4 separate regions of the Homo sapiens genome follow, and regions 1, 3 and 4 are each linked to region 2. Evidence: promoter capture Hi-C in 16 types of primary human blood cells and fetal thymus (Javierre and others, 2016). All regions are on one chromosome and are shown on one strand. Each heading gives the region's core, a stretch centred on a gene start or on the middle of the fragment in contact. The rest is flanking DNA. Distances are from core to core; before and after follow the strand shown.

Evidence for each region. Contacts are between HindIII fragments. The CHiCAGO score rates a contact against its expected background, and 5 or more counts as called.
Region 1: a fragment that was not itself captured here is called in contact with the fragment with the promoter of SMAD2 in region 2 in 1 of 17 cell types (fetal thymus); the score reaches 5.2 in fetal thymus.
Region 3: a contact is called between the fragment with the promoter of HAUS1 here and the fragment with the promoter of SMAD2 in region 2, in 4 of 17 cell types (total CD4 T cells, naive CD4 T cells, naive B cells and 1 more). The highest score is 6.5, in total CD4 T cells.
Region 4: a fragment that was not itself captured here is called in contact with the fragment with the promoter of SMAD2 in region 2 in 1 of 17 cell types (neutrophils); the score reaches 5.3 in neutrophils.

What each region holds. Positions count from the first base shown.
Region 1 is chr18:49,482,215-49,484,952 of GRCh38, reverse strand. C18orf32 (chromosome 18 open reading frame 32) reads left to right here. Exons shown (of 3, transcript NM_001035005.4): 2 at 1,182-1,369; 3 at 2,543-2,738. The coding sequence starts at 1,205. The coding sequence ends at 2,608. RPL17-C18orf32 (RPL17-C18orf32 readthrough) reads left to right here. Exons shown (of 7, transcript NM_001199356.2): 6 at 1,182-1,369; 7 at 2,543-2,738. The coding sequence ends at 1,361. Among named protein-coding and RNA genes, the nearest start is that of C18orf32, 3.6 kb to the left of the region's middle. The HindIII fragment of the contact is 270 bases long and covers 1,198-1,467 here.
Region 2 is chr18:47,929,173-47,931,958 of GRCh38, reverse strand. It overlaps SMAD2 (SMAD family member 2), which reads left to right and starts at 1,300. Exons shown (of 11, transcript NM_005901.6): 1 at 1,300-1,598. RefSeq lists silencers at 382-1,311, 1,342-1,871. The HindIII fragment of the contact is 8,478 bases long and covers 1-2,786 here.
Region 3 is chr18:46,102,963-46,105,662 of GRCh38, reverse strand. It overlaps HAUS1 (HAUS augmin like complex subunit 1), which reads right to left and starts at 1,278. Exons shown (of 9, transcript NM_138443.4): 1 at 1,222-1,278; 2 at 295-469. The coding sequence starts at 1,251. It also overlaps a transcript of ATP5F1A not described here. RefSeq lists an enhancer at 874-963 and a silencer at 1,354-1,453. The HindIII fragment of the contact is 1,925 bases long and covers 764-2,688 here.
Region 4 is chr18:49,507,812-49,510,511 of GRCh38, reverse strand. The region is part of intron 2 of LINC02837 (long intergenic non-protein coding RNA 2837); the gene reads right to left. Among named protein-coding and RNA genes, the nearest start is that of LINC02837, 9.8 kb to the right of the region's middle. The HindIII fragment of the contact is 3,198 bases long and covers 1-2,700 here.

The DNA of each region.
Region 1 (2,738 bases), core at 83-2,582, 1.6 Mb before region 2:
GCTCCACCATGGCTGGCTAATTTTGTGTTTTTAGTAGAGACGGGGTTTCACCATGTTGGTTAGGCTGGTCTCGAACTCCTGACCTCAGGTGATCTGCCCGCCTTGGCCTCCCAAAGTGCTGGGATTACAGGTGTGAGCCACCACACCCGGCTCATTTTTTAAACTCTAAATAGACATAGTAGCAAGGGTACCCAACCTCACTGATTGAGGATTAAATGAGTTGTTATATGTAAACTGTCTAGCACCTACCAAATGTTGTTGTTTTTCCTTTATAATCAAATTCATGATTAAGGAGCAGTGACTGGAAGTTTGGAAGCAGGCACCTCATTATTATTCATGCCTACCACCTATTATTTCTTTATTTTGAGATGGAGTCTTGCTCTGTCACCTAGGCTGGAGTGCAGTGGTGGGATCTCGGCTCACTGCAGCCTCTGCCTCCTGGGTTCAAGCAATTCTGCCTCAGCCTTCCGAGTAGCTGGGATTACAGGCGCATGCCACAACACCCCGCTGATTTTTGTATTTTTAGTAGAGACAGGGTTTCACCATGTTGGCCAGGCTGGTCTCGAACTCCTCACCTCATGATCCACCCGCCTTGGCCTCCCAAAGTGCTGGGATTACAGCCATGAGCCACTGCACCTGGCCTATTTCTTTACCTTGTAGATAGCAGCTTTTTATTTAATAAAGTCTTTTTTTTTTAGCAAATATAATAGTATGTTTTAAGTTTTTCCTACACTGTAGAAATAGTCCTTTCGTGTGTGTGTGTGTGTGTGTGTGTGTGTGTGTGTATATATATATATATATATATTTTTTTTTTTTCTTTTTTTGAGACAAAGTGTCTCTGTGTCATCCAGGCTGGAGAGCAGTGGCATGAACACGGCTCACTGCAGCCTCAACCTCCTGGGCTCTAGTGATCCTCTTGTCCCAGCCACTTATGTAGCTGGGACCACAGGAGTATGCCACCATGCCCAGCTAATTTTTTGATCTTGTAGAGACAAGGTCTCACTTTGTTGTGCAAGTTGGTTTCAAACTCCTGGGCTCAAGCTATCCTCTTGCCTCCCAAAGTGCTGGGATTACAGGCGTGAGCCACCACATCTATCCCCTTTCAGATATCTTAATCTTGGTAAATTCTTTCAGTTACTAATCTGTGATGAACTAATTTTTTTCTTCACATATATCAACAGTTGAGGAGCTCAAGCTTGGGAAAATGGTGTGCATTCCTTGTATCGTCATTCCAGTTCTGCTCTGGATCTACAAAAAATTCCTGGAGCCATATATATACCCTCTGGTTTCCCCCTTCGTTAGTCGTATATGGCCTAAGAAAGCAATACAAGAATCCAATGATACAAACAAAGGCAAAGTAAACTTTAAGGTAAGAACATTCACATGCCTTGAATAAGAGCAGTGAAAGGGGGTGGTACTTGGGTGAAACACTAGATTTTGGAAGGACAAGTTTTAGAACCAGAAGCTTCAATAGTTTGTGTAACATTTGGCTTAAATTAAAGTTTTAAAGTAGGCCTCTGATTAATGCATTTGTCCTTTGGCCAAAATGATAACCATATTTTCTGACTGGTAAGTGCAATGGTAAATAGCTAATGGATGAGGAGAGATTATGCTGATACAAACCAGTTTCACTGATTGATGACTTTGATAAGAGATTTAATTAGAAGGATCATAGAGATTTAAAAAAAAAACAATTTTTTTAAAAATGAGTGGACAACTCTGTTGTCTTTAGAATTGGTGCTTTTTTAGATTCAGCTTTGTACTCAGCTGCACTAATTTAGCCATCCGGCCCGTTTCTGGAAGCAAAATGTTTTCACTCTGGAGCTTGTCTGTTTTTAAAGAGAATGTTTCTTGAGCTGGGCGCGGTAGCTCACGCCTGTAATCCCAGCACTTGGGGAGGTCAAGATGGGTTGATCACCTGAGGTCAGGAGTTTGAGACCAGCCTGACCAACATGGTGAAATCCTGTTTCTACTAAAAATACCAAAATTAGTGAGGCGCGGTGGTGGGCACCTGTAATCTCAGCTACTCAGGAGGCTGAGGTGGGAGAATTGCTTGAACCTGGGTGGCAGAGGTTTCAGTGAGCCGAGATCACATCATTGCACTCCAGCCTGGGTGACAAGAATGAAACTCCATCTCAAAAAAAAAAAAAAAGAGAGAGACAGAATGTCTCTTAATATCTTTTTGTTGTAATAATTTCTTTCTTTTTTTTTTTTTGTTTTTGTTTTTGTGATGAAGTCTCGCTTTGTCACCAGGCTAGAGTGCAGTGGCATAATCTTGGCTCACCACAACTTCCGTCTCCCAGGTTCAAACGATTCTCCTGCCTCAGCCTCCTGAGTAGCTGGGATTATAGGCACATGCTACCATACCCAGCTAATTTTTGTATTTTTAGTAGGGACGGGGTTTCACCATGTCAGCCAGGATGGTCTCGATCTTCTGACCTCGTGATCTGCCTGCCTCAGCCTCCCAAAGTGCTGGGATTACAGGCATAAGCCACCGCACCCGGCTTGTTATGATAATTTCTAAAATGTTTTTTCATTTTAGGGTGCAGACATGAATGGATTACCAACAAAAGGACCAACAGAAATCTGTGATAAAAAGAAAGACTAAAGAAATTTTCCTAAAGGACCCCATCATTTAAAAAATGGACCTGATAATATGAAGCATCTTCCTTGTAATTGTCTCTGACCTTTTTATCTGAGACCGGAATTCAGGATAGGAGTCTAGATATTTACCTGAT
Region 2 (2,786 bases), core at 51-2,550:
TGGGTGCAGTTATGTTCTGGGCAGCCGTAAGTTTAGGGCCTTGCTGCCTCCTGTAGGGCAGATGTGCAAGTTGGGGCCTAATCGTCGCAACAGTGGAGAAAAGGGGAAGGGAAGATATCCCAGCCATTAAGGGACATCGTGACAGATGTTTCTTTTAGACTTCACAAAGACCCTTCGGGACATGGATTATTGATATCATTTTTACTGAAGACGGAACCAAAATTTAGGTTAAACACTTATACCTGGCATCCCCTACCCGGGCCCTAAGTGCTCTCCAAAGACCCCACCTCTGGGCTTATTTACATCGCGAACCCGCCCTCGTTCAGCAACACGAGGGCCCCGCCCGCTCATTTGCATAGGGCGCGCCCAGTCACGGGCCGGGTCCTCGGGCTTCTCCCGAACCCCTTTTCTCTCTCAGGCGCGTCCTCCGCGCTGCGCGGGGCCTCCCCGTGGGATGAGCACGTGTCCGCTGCCGGCCTCACGACGGACGGTGGACGAGGCGGCAGGCCCCTACAGGCCCCACCCACGACGCTGGCGAGGGATCGGGCGGTCACCGGGAATCGTCTTAATGCGCGGCAAGGCGCGGGCCTCTCCCTCTCCGCCCGTGAGCCCCGGTGGGAGCGCGCCGGCGCCCAACTCAAGCGAAACCGCGGGCGTCCCGCCCCGCCCGGCCGCGCCCCGCCTCGCCTCACGCTAGACTGGGGAGGCGGGACCAATCAGCGAGCGACGTCTCCCTTCCGATTCGAGGCCCCCGATGCGCGGCTCACACCCCGAGCTTCCCTCGTGCTGATTGGCTGCGGGCGCCGCCGGTCCGGCCGGGAGGCGGGGCGGGCCGTAGGCAAAGGGAGGTGGGGAGGCGGTGGCCGGCGACTCCCCGCGCCCCGCTCGCCCCCCGGCCCTTCCCGCGGTGCTCGGCCTCGTTCCTTTCCTCCTCCGCTCCCTCCGTCTTCCATACCCGCCCCGCGCGGCTTTCGGCCGGCGTGCCTCGCGCCCTAACGGGCGGCTGGAGGCGCCAATCAGCGGGCGGCAGGGTGCCAGCCCCGGGGCTGCGCCGGCGAATCGGCGGGGCCCGCGGCCCAGGGTGGCAGGCGGGTCTACCCGCGCGGCCGCGGCGGCGGAGAAGCAGCTCGCCAGCCAGCAGCCCGCCAGCCGCCGGGAGGTGGGTGCGTGGCGCCGCGGCGGCCGGCGGCCGAGGGCGGAGGGCGGAAGCGGAGGTGGGCTGGCGGGGGAGGGCGCGGCCGTGCGGGCGGCCGGTAGGGCTGCGGGCGCGCGCCTGAGGGGAGGAGGGGCAGCGCGGGCGCGCGCGTCCTCACCCCCTCCTTCCCCGCGGGCGGCGGCCAGGCTCCCTCCCCTCCCCTTCCCTCTCCTCCCCTCCCCTCCCCTCTCTTCCCCTACCCTCCCGCGCGCCCGGGCCGCCGGCCGGGCCCGGGCCTGGGGGCGGGGCGGGAAGACGGCGGCCGGGAGTGTTTTCAGTTCCGCCTCCAATCGCCCATTCCCCTCTTCCCCTCCCAGCCCCCTCCATCCCATCGGAAGAGGAAGGAACAAAAGGTCCCGGACCCCCCGGATCTGACGGGGCGGGACCTGGCGCCACCTTGCAGGTAAAGCCTGGGCGCCCGCGGGCCTCCAGCTAGGGAAGTGTTTGCGTGCGTCCGCGGCCGGGGCGATGGGCCGTGTCACATGGCCGCTGCGGGTGGGGGCTGGGGTGTGGTGAGTTCGGGGGCTGTGGGTGCGCCGGCCCGGGCGTGCGGGTTCGGGGCCGGAGAGCCGGGAAGGGACGGGGCTCGGTTGCACTGCGCTGCCGCCCAGGCTGACGGGGGCGGGGGCTGCCTGCGTCCCTTCCCCTCGCTGCTCTCACACTCCATAGTTTGTGGTTCTGATTTTTAAAGCCGAAGGGCCAGAGCTCTTGTTTCAGGAGTTGTGGGGAAGCCTTGTTAGGGACGCGTAATACTTTGCCTCCACTTTTTTTTTTTGGTCTCGTAACCTTTGTTAACAGTGGTAGTCTCGGGTTTTCCATGGCTTGTGTGTACTCACAAACACGCACACAGCTGATAACTCTGTGATCATCCTTCACTCACTTGTGAAAGTTGTTCTGCGGGTGGAGCCTATTAGTTTTTATCACACGCCTTTGGAAAGCCCTCGAAGTGATTTCTCGTATTTCAAACTTGGTTTTTAAAATTGCAACTTACTTTGTTCTCTTGGAGGGGGATATTGTCTTTGGGTCAGGTACTTTTGTCTTTTACTTATCCTTAAAATGTCCTTTTGATCCTAAACAGAAAAAGAATGCCTGGGTTGGTTTTGTTATTCCTTTCTCTTGACCCTTTAAAAGCAAAATACCACCAGTGTGTTGTCAACCATACCTTTAAAAAAGAAATTTCCAGGTAAAACGAATTTGCAAGCAGCATTTTCCATCAAAGTCATGTCTTGTTTGTTGCAATTTGGACTATCTTAAATTTGGGTTTGTGAAACTTTTAAAACGACATGTGTAAAATAATTGTTAATAAATAAATAACTTGGAATAATTACATCTTTTTAGAAATGGTCTTTGAAATGTGATTTAATTTCCAAAATTCTTTTTCTCTCTTCTGACTTCATATGAATTGAACCTGATAGTTTCGTATGAATGAATCGCTGATAGGATGTTTTCCTTGAGCCTAGTAATAAATTTGCTCTTATTATGCTGAAAATTTGCTATTCTACTTTAACACCCTTTAAAAAGTTTCCATCTTACAGAGAAGTTAGTCAAATAGTTAAATGGAGTTTCAACAGTTTTAATACATGAATTAGTG
Region 3 (2,700 bases), core at 29-2,528, 1.8 Mb after region 2:
TTGCAGTGAGCTGAGATCACACCACTGCACTCCAGCCTGGGCGACAGAGCAAGATTGTCTAAAATATATACACACACACACACACACACACACACACACACACACACACACATACATATACATATATATAAACATAAAACAATAAAGTTACTACTATAACAGAGTGGAAGAAAATCTGGGAAAAATAAAGGAGCAAAACAAGTAGTCTACAGTAAATTAATCCTGTATACTTTAGTGTTATAAAATTTGGTTACCTCTATTTATTCTCGTTCAAAACTCTGGACTTAATCTCACCTTCTGACTCGTATTCACTTGCTTTCTGCTTCAAGTCCTCTATTACCAGGTAGACATCCCTGTCCCGGACCCTGTTGCGTTCTGAAAGGTGATGTAAAATCTCTGTGGTCCGTGGGTTCACCTCATACTGTGGAATAGGATGATCTCCAAATATTTTTTTTAACCACGCAGCAACCTAACCATTAAAAGAAAGACAAATATTATAAGCCTTGTTTACTGTAATGGCTCGATGAGAATATGACAAAGAAGTGATCAAAAGCAAACTAAATGCTTTCTGTGACTATTTTGGAGTCCTACTTCACAACCTCACTTGTCTTTAGGGAGATACTAGATATCAGGAAATAAAAAGTGAGCAAGTACACAAAGAAACGTACAATACTGAAAATTACCAGAGAACAATCCGTTCTTTTCCAAATCTGCAAAAGCGGTACAGGCTAACAATTTGCCTCGCTTGAAAAACCTTAAAGCTTAATAGACCATAATAATGCGAACGCATTATTAGACCGTGCATGGTCTGAAAAAAGCAATTGTCCCTCGATCACCAGAAGCCCCGCCGCGCCGGGAGGCTCCCAGTGTTGGGATGCAGGGCGCGGAAGCAGTTCAGATGTGGAAGCCGCCGGGCTGAGCAGCGAACCGGAAGGCGGGTTTGGCTTCATAAGTCCCACTCCAGAGTCTGTGGACACGGGCTGCTCAACGCCTCTCCCGGGCCAGATCCAAACAAGGGGAGGCCCGGGCAGGAAGGGAAAGGCCTTCAGGAGAGTCTAAGCACGGGGGGCTTGCAGATAGTGACGGCGGCACTAAAAGACGGATGTGTGGAATAGGGGAGAGAAAAGTAGACGTGGCGCGCACAGGAGACCCGCTGTCGGCGCGGGGGTGTCAAAAACGCGTTTTCCAGGAGGCCAACGATCCCCATTCCCGCCCCATCACCTGCGTTTCTCTCTCCTCCTGCGGCTCCATAGCTGCGGCTCCCGCCACTTTACTAGGAACTCCTAGCGGGAGATGCGCCCCGCTCACTCCCTAGGCCCCGCCCACACGCCGTTGGCACCCGCCCCTCGCCGGGCCCGGGATTTCTGGGAGTTGTGGTTTTACCTGAGACTCCTGGCCGTTGAGCCCCTGTGCAAGGCTGGTCGAAGGCTCTGGCATTGCAAGCCTCGCTTCGTTGCCACTTCCCAGCTCTTCCCGCCTTCCGCGGTATAATCAACACTACGAGAGATAGAGCCGCCTAGAACCAGGTTGTTTTTTCTTTCTTTTATTTTTATTTCTTGTTTGAATCACTTGTCGTTAAAAAAAAGTACTTGAAACGTTTGGTTCTTGCTTAGCAAGATGTTTGTGTTTCTTCCACATTGATTGCATCCACTCAGAATTTATATTCTACCCTGGCAATATGAGCTGAGGCAATCTTAACTTGATCCGTTAGTTCCCCCAACCTAAAAACTAGGGACATTTTTTTTTTTTGAGACAGAGTCTCGCTTTGTCGCCCAGGCTGGAGTGCAGTGGCATGATCTCGGCTCACTGCAACCTCTGCCTCCTGGGTTCAAGCGATTCTTCTGTCTCAGCCTCCCAAGTAGCTGGGACTACGGGCAAGCGCCACCACGCCTGGCTAATTTTTGTGTTTTTAGTAGAGACGGGGTTTCACCATATTGGCCAGGCTGGTCTCGAACTCCTAACCTCATGATCCGCCCACCTCGGCCTCCCAAAGTGCTGGGATTACAGGCGTGAGCCAGCGCGCCCAGCTTTTTTTTTTTTTTTTTTTTTTTTGAGATGGAGTCTCTGTTGTTCAGGCTGGAGGGCAGTGGCACGATCTCGGCTCTCGGCTCTCAGCTCACTGCCACCTCTGCTTCCCGGGTTCAAGCGATTCTCCTGCCTCAGCCTTCCGAGTAGCTGGGATTACAGGTGTGCATCACCACGCCCAGCTAATTTTTTGTATCTTAGTAAAGATGGGATCTCATCAGGTTGGCCAGCTTGGTCTCGAACTCCTGACTTCAGGTGATCCGCCCGCCTTGGCCTCCCAAAGTGCTGGGATTACAGGCACTGCGCCCGACCTTTTCTTTTCTTTTTGAGATGGAGTGTTTCTCTGTCGCTTAGGCTGGAGTGCAGAGTGACATGATCTTGGCTCACTGCGACCTCCAACCCCCGTCCCCAGGCTCAAGCAATTCTCCTGTCTCATCCTCTCTAGTAGCTGGGATTACAGGCTTGTGCTAGCATGCAGGGATAATTTTTTTATTTTTAGTAGAACGGGGGGTTTCACCACGTTGATCAGGCTGGTCTCAAACTCCTGACCTCAAGTGATCTGCCTGCCTCGGCCTCTCAAAGAGCTAGGATTACAGGTGTGAGCCAACACACCCAGCCTAAAATGATTTTCTTTTCAAAGGAAACTTACTAGCAAGCCAAGCTTATTTATTATTT
Region 4 (2,700 bases), core at 7-2,506, 1.6 Mb before region 2:
TACAAAGTGATTCTGGGAAATATGTGGGAGGAACCATACCCAGTGCTCAACATGCAAGTAGATGCTCACTAAATAATTAGCTGTATTTTCGTGTCTTCCCCTTTATCATCGTTCCATCCTATCTTCTCTCTGGGCTCCAGAATTACTTTCCATTACCTAAAATATTCATTGACACTAAGAAGCGTGAGACTGAATGTATTCCTCTCCCCAGGAACACAAAGGATTCATGCCAGGAGGCCTGGGGTTCCGTCCTGCTCCAGGTCTGCCATTTACTGGGTTAGTTAACCTTTCTCGTAACACAAAAATTGCGTTGTAAAGATTATTTGATTTAACAAATGCGAAGTAACTCACATAAAATAAGCATTCAGGCCGGGTGCAGTGGCTCATGCCTGTAATCCCAGCACTTTGGGAGGCCAAGGAGGGCGAATCACTTGAAGTCAGGAGTTCGAAACCAGTCTGGCCAACATGGCGAAACCCTGTTTCTACTTAAAAAAAAAAAATACAAAAATTAGCCGGGCATGCTGGCGTGCACTTGTAATTCCAGCTACTTGGGAGGCTGAGGCACTTGAATCTCTTGAGCCTGGGAGGCGAAGTTTGCAGTGAGCCGAGATCATGCCACTGCACTCCAGACTGGGAGATAGAGTGAGACTCTGTCTCAAAAAAAAAAAAAAGCATTCAATAAATATTAATATTCATTCCAGAAATAGATGAATTTTACAAGAGGAAAGATGGAAGGAGGCAACTCTAACATAATTAGTCACTGGTGGAATTTTAGAAATGAAGTCAGATATCCAGGCACGAATCGTATCTAACTGCATTGCCGACTCTACATAGGTATGTTAATCCCAGTCTCATTGTCCCCTTCAAGTTTTTAGAAGAGTATTTGTCACTGGGTATGTAGAGCAAATCAACTCTTTAATAATTGTTAGTACAAAGGAGTTAGCACGTTGAAAAGAAATGGAACATGGTGAAGAGGAGGACGGGGAAGCGGCTGACTGCACATATAGACAATGCTCACGCAGCTGAACCATCATTTATTGCCAGGGCATGGTGGTTACTCCTGACTCTGTCCATCACCCAGGGTCCCAGCTGGAAACAGAATTCGCCAAGTGTAGCTCAAGTGAAAAAAACCCTAATGAAGGGACTCCCAGTAGAGGCATAGATAGAGTTAAGGGAGCAAACAAACAAAGACTGGTCACCTTCCCTTGGATAGAGGAGGAAAGGAGAAGATGGAGCTACTAGAGCCCGGTGAGACCTGAAATCATAGAAGAAGACCACCATCGGGAGCAGGGATCATGGAGGAAACAACTAGTGTCAGATTCTCCATTGCAAGCAAGAGACAGCCCTGGACTTTGGAGATTTTTGTCTGTAGAATTTTCCCTTGTGTGTGTGATTAATTTGACTATTTTAAAAATTTTTTTAATTAACACATAATAATTATACATATTTATGGGGTACATAATGATGTTTTGATACACATCATGTATAGTGATCGGATAGATCAAGGTAATTCACATACCCATGATCTCAAACATTTATCATTTCTTTGTGTTGGGAACATTCAATATCCTCCCTCTAGCTATTTGAAACTATATATTATTGTTAACTATAGTCATCCTACAGTGGTAGAGAACATTAAACCTTATTCCTCTTATCTAGCTGTAATTTTGTATCCTTTAGCAAATCTCTCCCTATCCCTTTCCCTACCCTTCCAGCTTCTAGTATCCTCTGTTCTACTTTTTACTTCTATGAGATAAACTTTTTAGCTTCCACACATGAATGAGAATGTGCAGGATTTAACCTGCTGTTCTGGTTGGTTTTTTTTTGTTTTTTTTTTTTTTTTGGAGATGGAGTTTTGCTCGTCACCCAGGCTGGAGTGCAATGGTGCGATCTCAGCCCACCGCAACCTCTCACTCCTGGATTCAAGCAATTCTCCTGCCTCAGCCTCCTGAGTAGCTGGGATTACAGGCGACCGCCATCATGACCAGCTACTTTTTGTATTTTTAGTAGAGATGGGGTTTCAACATGTTGGCCAGGCTGGTCTTGAACTCCTGACCTCAGGTGATCTGCCCACCTCAGCCTCCCAAAGTGCTGGGATTACAGGCGTGAGCCACCGCGCCTGGCATCTGGCTTATTTCACTTAACATAATGTCCTCCAGTTCCAGCCATGTTGCCGCAAATGACAGAATTTCATTCACTTTTATGGCCGAATAGTATTCCATTTTGTATTTATATCACGATTTCTTTATACATTCATCTGTTGTTAAACACCTATGTCATTTCCATATCTTGGCTAGTGCAAATATTGCTGCAATAAACATGAGGATGCAGAGGTTTCTTCAATATACTGATCTCCTTTCCTTTGGGTAAATGCCCAGTAGTGGAATTGCTGGATCATATGATAGTTCTATTTGTAGTTTTTTAAGGATCCTCCATACAGTTCTCCATAGTGGCCATACTAGTTTACATTCCCAGCAGCAGTGCATAAGAATTCTCTTTTCTCTACATACTTGCTAGCATTTGTTAGCTTTTGTCTTTTTGATAATAGCAGTTCTAACTGGGAAGAGATGATACCTCGTTGTGGTTTTAATTTGCATTTCCCTGATGATTAGTGATGTTGAGCATTTTTTCATCTATTTATTTGCCATATGTACATCTTCTTTTAAGAAATGTCTGTTCAGGTCATTCACCCACTTTTTA